Regions from separate parts of the Homo sapiens genome. Here regions 2 and 3 are each linked to region 1. The links are contacts of gene promoters, found by promoter capture Hi-C in blood cells and fetal thymus (Javierre and others, 2016). All regions are on one chromosome and are shown on one strand. The core of a region is centred on a gene start or on the middle of the fragment in contact, and the rest is flanking DNA. Distances in the headings are between cores, read along the strand shown. Region 1 holds the start of SH3RF2 (SH3 domain containing ring finger 2). Region 2 overlaps SH3RF2 (SH3 domain containing ring finger 2). Region 3 overlaps PRELID2 (PRELI domain containing 2).

Region 1 (3,211 bases), core at 464-2,963:
AAAAGAACACCCAGTTTCTTTCTCTTTTTTTTTTTTTTTTTTTTTGAGACGGAGTCTTAGTCGCCCAGGCTGGAGTGCAATGGCACAATCTCAGCTCACTGCAGCCTCCACCTCCCAGGTTCAAGTGATTCTTGTGCTTCAGCCTCCCAAGCACTCCCAGCCAACACACCCAGCTAATTTTTGCATTTTTAGTAGAGATCGGGCTTCACCATGTTGGCCAGGCTGGTCTCAAACTCCTGACCTCAAGCAATCCACCCACACCTCAGCCTTCCAAAGTGCTGGGATTACAGGCATGAGTCACCGCGCCTGGCCTCAAACACCTAGTTTCTAGTCCCAATTCTGCCCCTAACTCACTGGACAACTTCAAAGAATCCCTTGATCTTTCTGGGCACAGCTGCCTCATCTGTAAGAGAAAGTGAGTAGCCAGTTTTGTCCATTATCTTTTGACCTCTTGCCCTCTTAGGGGAGGCTTAGCTCCCTTGAACCACCTCTTCACCTCTTTTTTTTTTTTTTTTTTTTTGTCGCCCTGGCTGGAGTGCAGTGGCACGATCTCAGCTCACTCCAGCCTCCGCCTCCCAGGTTCAAGCGATTCTCCTGCCTCAGCCTCCTGAGTAGCTGGGACTTCAGGTGCGCACCACCATGCCCAGCTAATTTTTGTATTTTTAGTAGAAATGAGGTTTCACCATGTTGGTCAGGATGGTCTTGATCTCCTGACCTTGTGATCTGCCCACGTCGGCCTCCCAAAGTGTTGGGATTACAGGCATGAGCCACTGCGCCTGGCCAGCCTCTTAAAGTTATATCACTCCATGACATTGTTAAGAGCACAGCCCACTTGCCTTCTGCTAGCTGTGACTCCCGAGATGAGTTATTTATCCTCTCTGTGTCTCAAGTTCCCTCATCTGCAAGATGAAAGTAAAGAATAGTTTAGTGTCTCCTTGGGTTGTTAAGGGGTTAAAGGGCTAACACAGGTAAGGTATTTAGAACAGTGGTTGACACAGATAAGGACTACCCTGGCATTAAGATTGTTATTATTCACTTAATCGGATACCTTTGTAATTTTACATGAAATGTATTATCGATAAATCAAAAAATAGAAATATAGGCATAATCTGAGGATATGAAAAGACTACAGTGGATAACAGGCAGGAGGAGAGCTTGGAGGCCACTGCTTTTCCTTTTTTGAAAAAGCTTCTCTGTGCTTTGATTTTTCACGTATGTGTATATACGTGACACTAGTTTTTTAATTTAAACAGATTGAGCAAAAAGATCACTAAAGTCCCTCTTATCTCTAAATTCAGAGATTGACTATGATTTTCAAAGAGCAATATTTTCTAGGTGTCCGACTTATCCTTGTTTTCATAGCTTGACCATTTTTACTTTTGACCTTCCCAGGAAATCCTTATGAAGATTTAAAATAAACACAATCACTTTGGTATGTTTATAATGGAGCAGGTTCTGACTCCTTGGATACTACAGAAAACGGGAAAGGTGAAAATATGAACTTTGTAAATACTTGGCCTTAGGGACTGGCTTATATTTTACCTCTTACAATCTTTTCCCAGAAGCAATTCAGTAAACTGAAGGAAAGATCATAAAGTTAACAACTGCAACAACAAAAGCGTGGTAAGTAGGCAGCGCCCTGGCAGTGAAAGCGTTAACAGGGCTGGGTAAGGCGATCCCTTGAAATGAGTAAGACTGAGTGGTTAAAGTTTTCAAAGCGGTTGGCAGCAGCGGCGCTTGGAGGAAAGGAAGCCGGTTGGAGGGCGCAGCGCACCCCTGCTGCGCGGAGGAGGGGGCTGAGCTGAACTCAGCAGAAGTTACATGCACAAGGTTAGTGGCCCCCACACGCCTCCCCAGCCCGCTGCCGCGCTGACATCTTTGGAGAGGAGGCTTAGGAAGGCGAGGCGCCATCGCTCATTCTCGGTCGTGTCTGTCCTGCTTACTAGTCGCTAGTGGGGCCACTGGCCTTCTCGCCAAACCTCTGGGCTCGGTGCTTACCGAAGCCCTGGCACTTGTGAGGGACAGCTGACTTCTTCCAGACTTTTCTAAACTGGAGGCTTCTTTTCATACATCCAAAAGGAAACTTGTTTCTGGAACAAGTACTGTTTTCAGAGTACACACACACACGACCCCTACCTGTATATGCTGCCCCAGTACGGTTTTTACAGGTCGTGACCACAATCCAGAATTCCTATCTGCTTCATTTGAAATTGAGAACAATGTCAAAGTAACTAAACAGGCTGCACTACTTTACCTTGTGGGAGGAACATTGTCTCTGAGCCTAAGGTAATCGGGATGAGGAGAGAAAAAAAAAAAAAGATGAAAAAAGAAAAGAAACAAAGCTTCCAAGCACCCTGACCTGTGGTTAAGGCAAAACAATTTTTGGAAATGGGTTTCTAGTGGAAATTTTTCTTGTACATTGCTAGAATCATGTGGGAAGGTATATTGTGAAGGAAATAATTCTACATCTGCATGAGATTCAGATAAACTTACCCACCTAAACTAATCTGCATGTGGTGCAGATAATAGATACATTTAGATTTAGGGGAAGGAGGAGGAGGAGATAGCTTCACAGAAATTGCGTTCGGAGGGGGCTTTGTTGTAAGAATTGAGACTGTCCAGGAGCTTTCCCCGGGCAGGGGGTAAAGGACCTCTTCCCGCCCTGGCTGGTAGAGAGGGGTTGGGGGGCCACTTCAGCAGGCCAGTTTATCTCCCTGCTTTCCTGTCCACATAGGCAATAAGCAGTCAGTCTTGTGCTGAATGTTCCCTCTGATCCTCACAGCAAGCACGAGTTGAGTCTTATACCTGCTAGCATTGAATCAGAATGAGTCATTTGAAACTTGGGTGCCGGAACAAAGTACTTGCAAACTGCCTTATGAGACACTGCCTCAATGTAGGTGGGATATACCTCTCGGAGCAGTCACATTTTTTTTTCTCTCCTCTCCCTCCTTCAAGCAGGCAAAAATTCTGACGTTCTCAAGAGACCAGCTCTGCCCCCGTGGCTCAACTGACCCTACCATGTGGACGCTGCTCCTCCAGGTGGGAACTGGAGTTTTGAAATAAAATGGATGATTTGACGTTACTTGATCTTCTGGAGTGCCCTGTGTGCTTTGAGAAGCTCGATGTCACAGCCAAAGTCCTCCCTTGCCAGCACACCTTCTGCAAACCATGTCTACAGAGGGTTTTCAAGGCCCACAAAGAGCTGCGGTGC
Region 2 (3,211 bases), core at 349-2,848, 120 kb after region 1:
ATGGGGATCTCCTGCCTTCCAGAGAATTTGAGGGGAAGAAATGACCTTTTCCTGAGACAGGACCATCTCAATTTAAAAAAAAAAAAAAAAGGAAAAGAAAAACAATGAGCTCAGGAAGGGACAAAACCAAGCTCTTGGACCTTGCATTTTTAGGATATGTGATCCTTTACCCAAAAATAATGATAGCTAACAGACATGCGGCATTTATCATATTCCAGGCACTATCCTGATACTTTGCACACCAAATAGAATGCAATCCTCACAGCAGCCCAATGATGTACTGTTATTATCTCCAGCTTACAAACGAGAGAACTGAGGTGCAGAGAGGTGACGTGACTTAACTCATCCCAGGCTTTCCAGGAGGAGGTCTGATTCCAGATCCTCTGTCATGAGACATTGCAAAGCCCATCCTCACAGCCCTAACTGTGGAATAACCTTTCCAAATTTGCCTTTGTCTGCTGTTGTGCTTGCCTAGCCCTTGCCACTCACCCTTTCTCCCTGCAGCCCCCGACAAAAAGCAACCCCCACCTGCCACATGCCTAAAGCTTCTGTCAAGATTTTCACAGCAAGTCGCTGGGCAGAGTTTTCCTCTCTCCTCCTCTCTTTCTCCTTTTCCTCTCTCTCATTCTTCTCGGTTGCCTCTCCTTTGTGTTTCTCAATGTCTTCTATTTCCTATCTCTGATTCTGTCATGTGTTTCCTATTTGGTCTGACTGCCTCTGTGTCTGCTTCACGCGCGCGTGTGTGTGTGTACGTGTGTGTGTGCGTGTGTGTGTGTGTATCACAAGGCAAATGGAAGCAATATACCTTCTGACAGCCCCCCTACACACATACACACATACACACTCACACACACCATTCAGCCAGAGAGATATTTGCTGCCAGCATCAGCAAACAGCACTAAAAAAAGAATAAGGTCACCTTTGAAAGACCCGGAGAGAATGTGAGTGCAGTCAGATTAGGAAAGCGCTTGTCTATTCTGGGATATCAGGAAGCACTGCTTACCCAGCCCCACCCAACCTACTGCCAGCCGCCCCTGCTGCTGATCTCTCTGTCCTATAATTCCCCAGATGGATCCCTGCAGAGACCCCTCCAGTCCGGGATCCCCACTCTCGTGGTAGGCTCCCTCAGACGCAGCCCCACCATGGTCCTTCGGCCTCAGCAGTTCCAATTCTACCAGCCACAGGGGATCCCCTCCTCCCCCTCAGCCGTGGTGGTGGAGATGGGGTCCAAGCCTGCCCTCACGGGGGAGCCCGCCCTCACGTGCATCAGCAGGGGCAGTGAGGCCTGGATCCACTCCGCGGCCAGCTCCCTCATTATGGAAGACAAAGAAATCCCCATCAAGAGTGAGCCTCTGCCAAAACCGCCCGCATCTGCCCCACCATCCATCCTGGTGAAACCAGAAAACTCAAGAAATGGCATCGAAAAGGTAGGATCAGAGTGACATTGGGGGCCCAACTCTTTCGATCCCGTACTATGCATAGTGTCTCAGCTCAGAGATTTTAGTGTTGGTGAACAAGGAACCAAAATTGCAGCCTCGAAAGAATCCTCACACATAACACTCCTCCTCCCCAACTCCCCACTGAGCCATGGCCAACATCCCCAACATCACCCACGCCCTCCCTACATGTGTTACTGATTCGCCTTTATGTTTCCTGAATATTTTATACATCTTTTGAGGCCCAAAAGTGGCTTGAAAAAAAAGCATGACTTTGGCATTAGATGAATCTTGCTTTGAATTCTAGCTTTGCTGCTTGCTAGCTGGGTGACTTTGGTCAAAATACTTCACCCTTCTGAGTCACTTAGTTTGCATAATCTGTAAAATGGAGGTAGAAAGAGTAATGGCCACACAGTAATGGAGTGGAGATTAAACGAGATATGTGAAGTGCTTACATAGGGTTTGACACATAATTATGCATTGTATAAAAGGGGCAACTGAGGCACAGGATAATGTAAGTGACATCGAGGTCACACTGAATGATAATGACTCCAACTACCTTATTGTGACCTCTGTGGCAGACGTCAGATCTGTTAACTTCTAGTCCAGGATATTTCCCACTAGAAGACGTGAGAGTTTTTGTAAAAGGCTTATGTTCTCAATAATATCCTTGAAGCAGGAGGAATAGTGGGAAGAGAGGACAGTAAGAAAGTTAGGTGATGCTTATTGCTGTCTTAATTTATGAACATCACCATCATCACATCATCGCCATCACCACCTCCATCACCACCGCCATCAGCATCATTCCACCATCATCGTCCATTCCCCTCAGAACGGAAAGAGGATGCGATTCCCCCATTGGTTAACCAGTTATCGAATACTAACAAGCTGGCAGGCACTGTGCTGAGTACTTCATGTGTCCCATATATTTAATCCTGACAACAACCCTCTCAAATAGGCATTAGTTTCATCCTCATTTTAAAATTAGGAAATGGCAGCTCAGGGAGTTAAAGAACATTACCCAAGACCGCACAGTTGACACATACGTGTGGAGTAGAATCCAGATCTGATGCAAAACTCATGCTCTTACTGCTAAGCTATCAGCTCATAGGGAAAGGTATTGGAAAAAGCACTGACATATATAAAGGTTGGGAGTTCTTATTCTGAATTATAGAAATAATTCAGAGTTTTCTAGGCCCCAGTTGCCCATTACTCCAAGCTTTTAGATACAACTATAAGCATTTCATAAATGCCCAGACCTTGGCTAGATATTAGGAGGATCAGAACGTATGAAGAAACTCAGATCTTAGTGGGGGATACTAGGGTTGCATTACATGGAAGAAAGACATCATTCCTGAGCAGTACCACAGAACGCTTTATTAGGCCCTGAGATAGAGACTGGCTAAAGCAAATACTGTACCTATGGGTGCCTAGCAGATATATAACAGGCTAGGAGATGTGAAAGGAAAGAGGAAGAGGGGGAATTGGCATAAACTGGAGACCTTGCATCTCATATAAAGGGGGCACTGCTTCTCAGGTCCAGCCAGCTGTTGTCAGAATGAGCCATAGGCCCAGTGCGTCAGAGCTTTGATTTTTTTTTTAAGAGACATATGAAATTCTGATTTTTATATGCAATCTCCCAATTTTTATGTGTTGGCGAGTCGATCAAACCCTCAAACATTCTGCAGGCTAAATTCAGCCAGCAGGTGTCCAGTTTGCAAACTGTGCTCTAAGGATTTATAAGGCCATTATGGAAATCTCTAAATGGAGTCATC
Region 3 (3,211 bases), core at 437-2,936, 110 kb before region 1:
TAAAGATTTATTGAACTGAGGCTCCCCCTACCTGGCATTACTTGAAATGATCTGACGCCATCTTGTGGTAACCTGAATATTCATGTTTTAATTCATGAAAATTTACCAAAACTCCCATGAGAAAAAGTTGAAAGAGGGAAGGCTTCTCAGAGGTCAATACCAGGAACACTTACCTGGGAAGACAGGAGGCAGATGGCCAGGTTTTTCTGGACACCTTTTCAAACACAATCCAGTATGACTGCAGAATTGATCAAGCTGAATCAGGATCACACCCATCAAAGACTTAACTGAGCAGCTACTGTGTTCACGCAGGGTGCTATCCTAGAGAAGCTGCCATGCGCATGATCTCATTCAGTCCTTCTCAAAGCGTGGAAACCTATCAAGTATTAATATACAGAGTATTTCTGCTATAAATATAATAGTGTAAAGCCCGCAGACAAGCAGGTTCACATGGGATTCTTCAATCCCCATTTCATACTAGAGACTCTCATGAAAGCAATGTGATCTGAAGACCCAGATATCTGCCAAAAGCCCTTGTCTTTCTTGATCCTGGCTTAGCTGATCACAAACTGCAGTGTGCAAGAGAACGATCCCACAGGCTGCATACATATGCCATGTATGCTATACTACTTTATGGATGATTTAAGGGATTTTTAAAGGTATATTTGACTTCATTTTGCATTTCCTTATAATTTTTAATTTCTTCACAGAACGTGTAAACTAACTCCTTTTCCTTTCCCGAAGACATGAAACTACTACAAATACCACTGTATATATCATATGTATGTAACAGTCTAACAAGGGTAAAATGTAGACGTGCCTAAAGCTGTTGTATCTGCTTGCTTTAGTTTTTACATATTAAAAGATAAGCCAAGAACTCCATAATATTGGGGGGGAATATGCATTAAAGCAAACACATATATATAAAAAGTTAGAGGCAAGAAACTGAATCCATCTAATTACAGAATATTCAATATGTTTCTGGGAGAAGCTTCATGAAGATATAACATTTTGCATTCATATTTGCCGAGGGAAAAAAAAACCCATAAGCTTTCAGAAAGCCTACTCTTAAAAGAGTTATTAAAATATGAACTTTCCAAAAAGCTCAAAAGCCAATGCCTTTTTTTAATAACATTTGCTTCCCCTCTCAGAAACAGTCAGTGACATCCAAAGGAGTCACTGTCTACCAATTTACAAATGAGGTTACCAGAGAGAGTACAAGGAAGCAGGTGACTGACAGATCTGTCTGAAGAGTCCTTCAAAGAAGGCAAAGAAGACCTACAGTAAGTCTGGTATATTAACATACCCGTGTTATAAGCATTAAGGGAATCTGTTATCTAGGCTGCTGCCAAACATGTACATGCAAAGAGATGGGGCTGCTGAAAAGAGATTTGGTGTTTAGCAGCAGAAAGAAATCACCATGAGCTATGCCAAATTCCTTTTATGAGCTCCACACCATAGTCTATCTCAGAAGAAAAGCAAAGTTGATTTTATACCAAGACGAAACGAGTTATAAATTAATCAAAATTTCAATGATCAAGGACAAAACGTACTTAAGTTGAAAAGTATTTGGAATGGCTGTTCATTGGTCTTTCAATAGGATGATGAAATAGAAAGAACAAAGGGCAACGAGCCAAGACATGCAGACTACAACGCTGCCATCTGTGAGGTCGGGGTGATGAACCACCAGGTGATCATCCAAGATCCTTCTGGCCAGGAAAAGCTATGGTTCCAAACAAAGGCCAACCAACAGCACATCAGCCTCTTTCTTTCAAAAATGACCCAATAATCAGCAACGGCATAGTGAAGGTTTTGAAAAGACAGTTTTTCATTGTAACACAGAGGAAAATCCTCTTATCACAACATCAAATGTATGCATAAACCCAGTGCAGCTAAAGATACACTACAAATAACTGCCCAGCACTCTTCAAAATCACCATGGTCCGGAAATGCAAGGAAAGACTGAGGAACCGTCCTACACTGCAGGACACTGGCAGCTAAATGCAATGTGGGGTCCTGAATTGGATGCTAGACTGGAAAAACGATACTAGTGGACAATTGACAAAATCTAAATAGGGTCTATAGGTTAGTTAATAGCATTGTATCAGTGTTAATTTCCTGGTTTTAAAAAGTATACTGTGGTTTGGGGAAGCTGGAAAAAAGTATGTGGGAATTCTTTGTTTCTGCAATATTGTTTTTGAAATGTTTTATAAGTCAAATTATTTATAAATGAAAAGAAATAAAAAACAAAATTAAAGACACGATGTTAGAAAACAGTGAATTTTAGAGCCCAAGAGATCTGAATTGGAATCCTATCTGTGAGAAGCTTGGACAAATCACTTTAATCTGCCCTAGTTTCTTCATCTGTAAAATGAGAATAAATACTTACCTCAAAGAGTTGTTATAAGAATTAAAGGAAACAATTTAATTACAGTATAATACCTAGCACTGTGCAAGTAGAAAATAAATGTAGCTGGTTTTGCTACTAACAAATGAATCAACACTTTTGAAGACTTAAAAAGTTTCAAGATTTTGGTTTTTATCTTGCAATTTACTGTGGTGTGGCATTAAATACATTGCTGGCATCTATCTGCAATCCAAAAATACTTACACAATGATTTTAAAATGATTAGAAGATAATATATCTGATTTTCCTAGACTAATAAAAAACTCAGAAGCTCGTGCTTTACCAGTTCGGAATTTGTGTAAGATACAAGGCCTCCCTGACACTTCACTCCACACTAGCATTAGGGAAAGGGCTGCACCAGAGAAGTAAGAGTGCTGGAGAGAATATTTACTTGTTTTTAAAAAGACAACTGTTTCTAAATAGTTTAAATGCTTTCATGGATTTATAATTAAAATATAAATCTTGCCCCATACTACAATGTAATGTCTGCCATATGCCCCCAAGAAAGCCTTTATCATGAAAATTAATATATCCTCCTCTGTCCCTTTTGACAGTGAACTCCTTGAAGACAGGTCCATGTACTTAGATAGTGAAAAAAATCTTTTTTTTTTTTTTTTTTTTTTTTGAGACTGGGTCTCACTTTGTCATCCACGCTGGAGTGCAGTGATGCAATTACAGCTCACTGCAACCTCTGCCTCCCGGCTCAAGCGATCCTCCTAACTCAGCCTCCCGAGTACCTGGGACTACAGGTGTGTGCCACCATGCCCCGGCTAATTTTGGGGGTTTTTTGTTTTTGTGTCTGTG

The links. The method cuts DNA at HindIII sites, captures the fragments that hold promoters and counts their contacts. A CHiCAGO score of 5 or more calls a contact.
Region 2: a fragment that was not itself captured here is called in contact with the fragment with the promoter of SH3RF2 in region 1 in 1 of 17 cell types (neutrophils); the score reaches 5.1 in neutrophils.
Region 3: a fragment that was not itself captured here is called in contact with the fragment with the promoter of SH3RF2 in region 1 in 1 of 17 cell types (M0 macrophages); the score reaches 5.6 in M0 macrophages.

What each region holds. Positions count from the first base shown.
Region 1 is chr5:145,934,865-145,938,075 of GRCh38, forward strand. SH3RF2 (SH3 domain containing ring finger 2) reads left to right here and starts at 1,714. Exons shown (of 10, transcript NM_152550.4): 1 at 1,714-1,830; 2 at 2,959-3,211. The coding sequence starts at 3,065. LOC107986458 (a long non-coding RNA gene) reads right to left here. Exons shown (of 4, transcript XR_001742913.2): 4 at 837-899. RefSeq lists an enhancer at 1,452-2,029. The HindIII fragment of the contact is 1,154 bases long and covers 1,187-2,340 here.
Region 2 is chr5:146,058,798-146,062,008 of GRCh38, forward strand. It overlaps SH3RF2 (SH3 domain containing ring finger 2), which reads left to right. Exons shown (of 10, transcript NM_152550.4): 9 at 1,069-1,427. All of the region lies in intron 1 of LOC107986458 (a long non-coding RNA gene), which reads right to left. Among named protein-coding and RNA genes, the nearest start is that of PLAC8L1, 45 kb to the right of the region's middle. The HindIII fragment of the contact is 2,110 bases long and covers 544-2,653 here.
Region 3 is chr5:145,825,825-145,829,035 of GRCh38, forward strand. The region is part of intron 1 of PRELID2 (PRELI domain containing 2); the gene reads right to left. Among named protein-coding and RNA genes, the nearest start is that of PRELID2, 7.9 kb to the right of the region's middle. The HindIII fragment of the contact is 1,276 bases long and covers 1,049-2,324 here.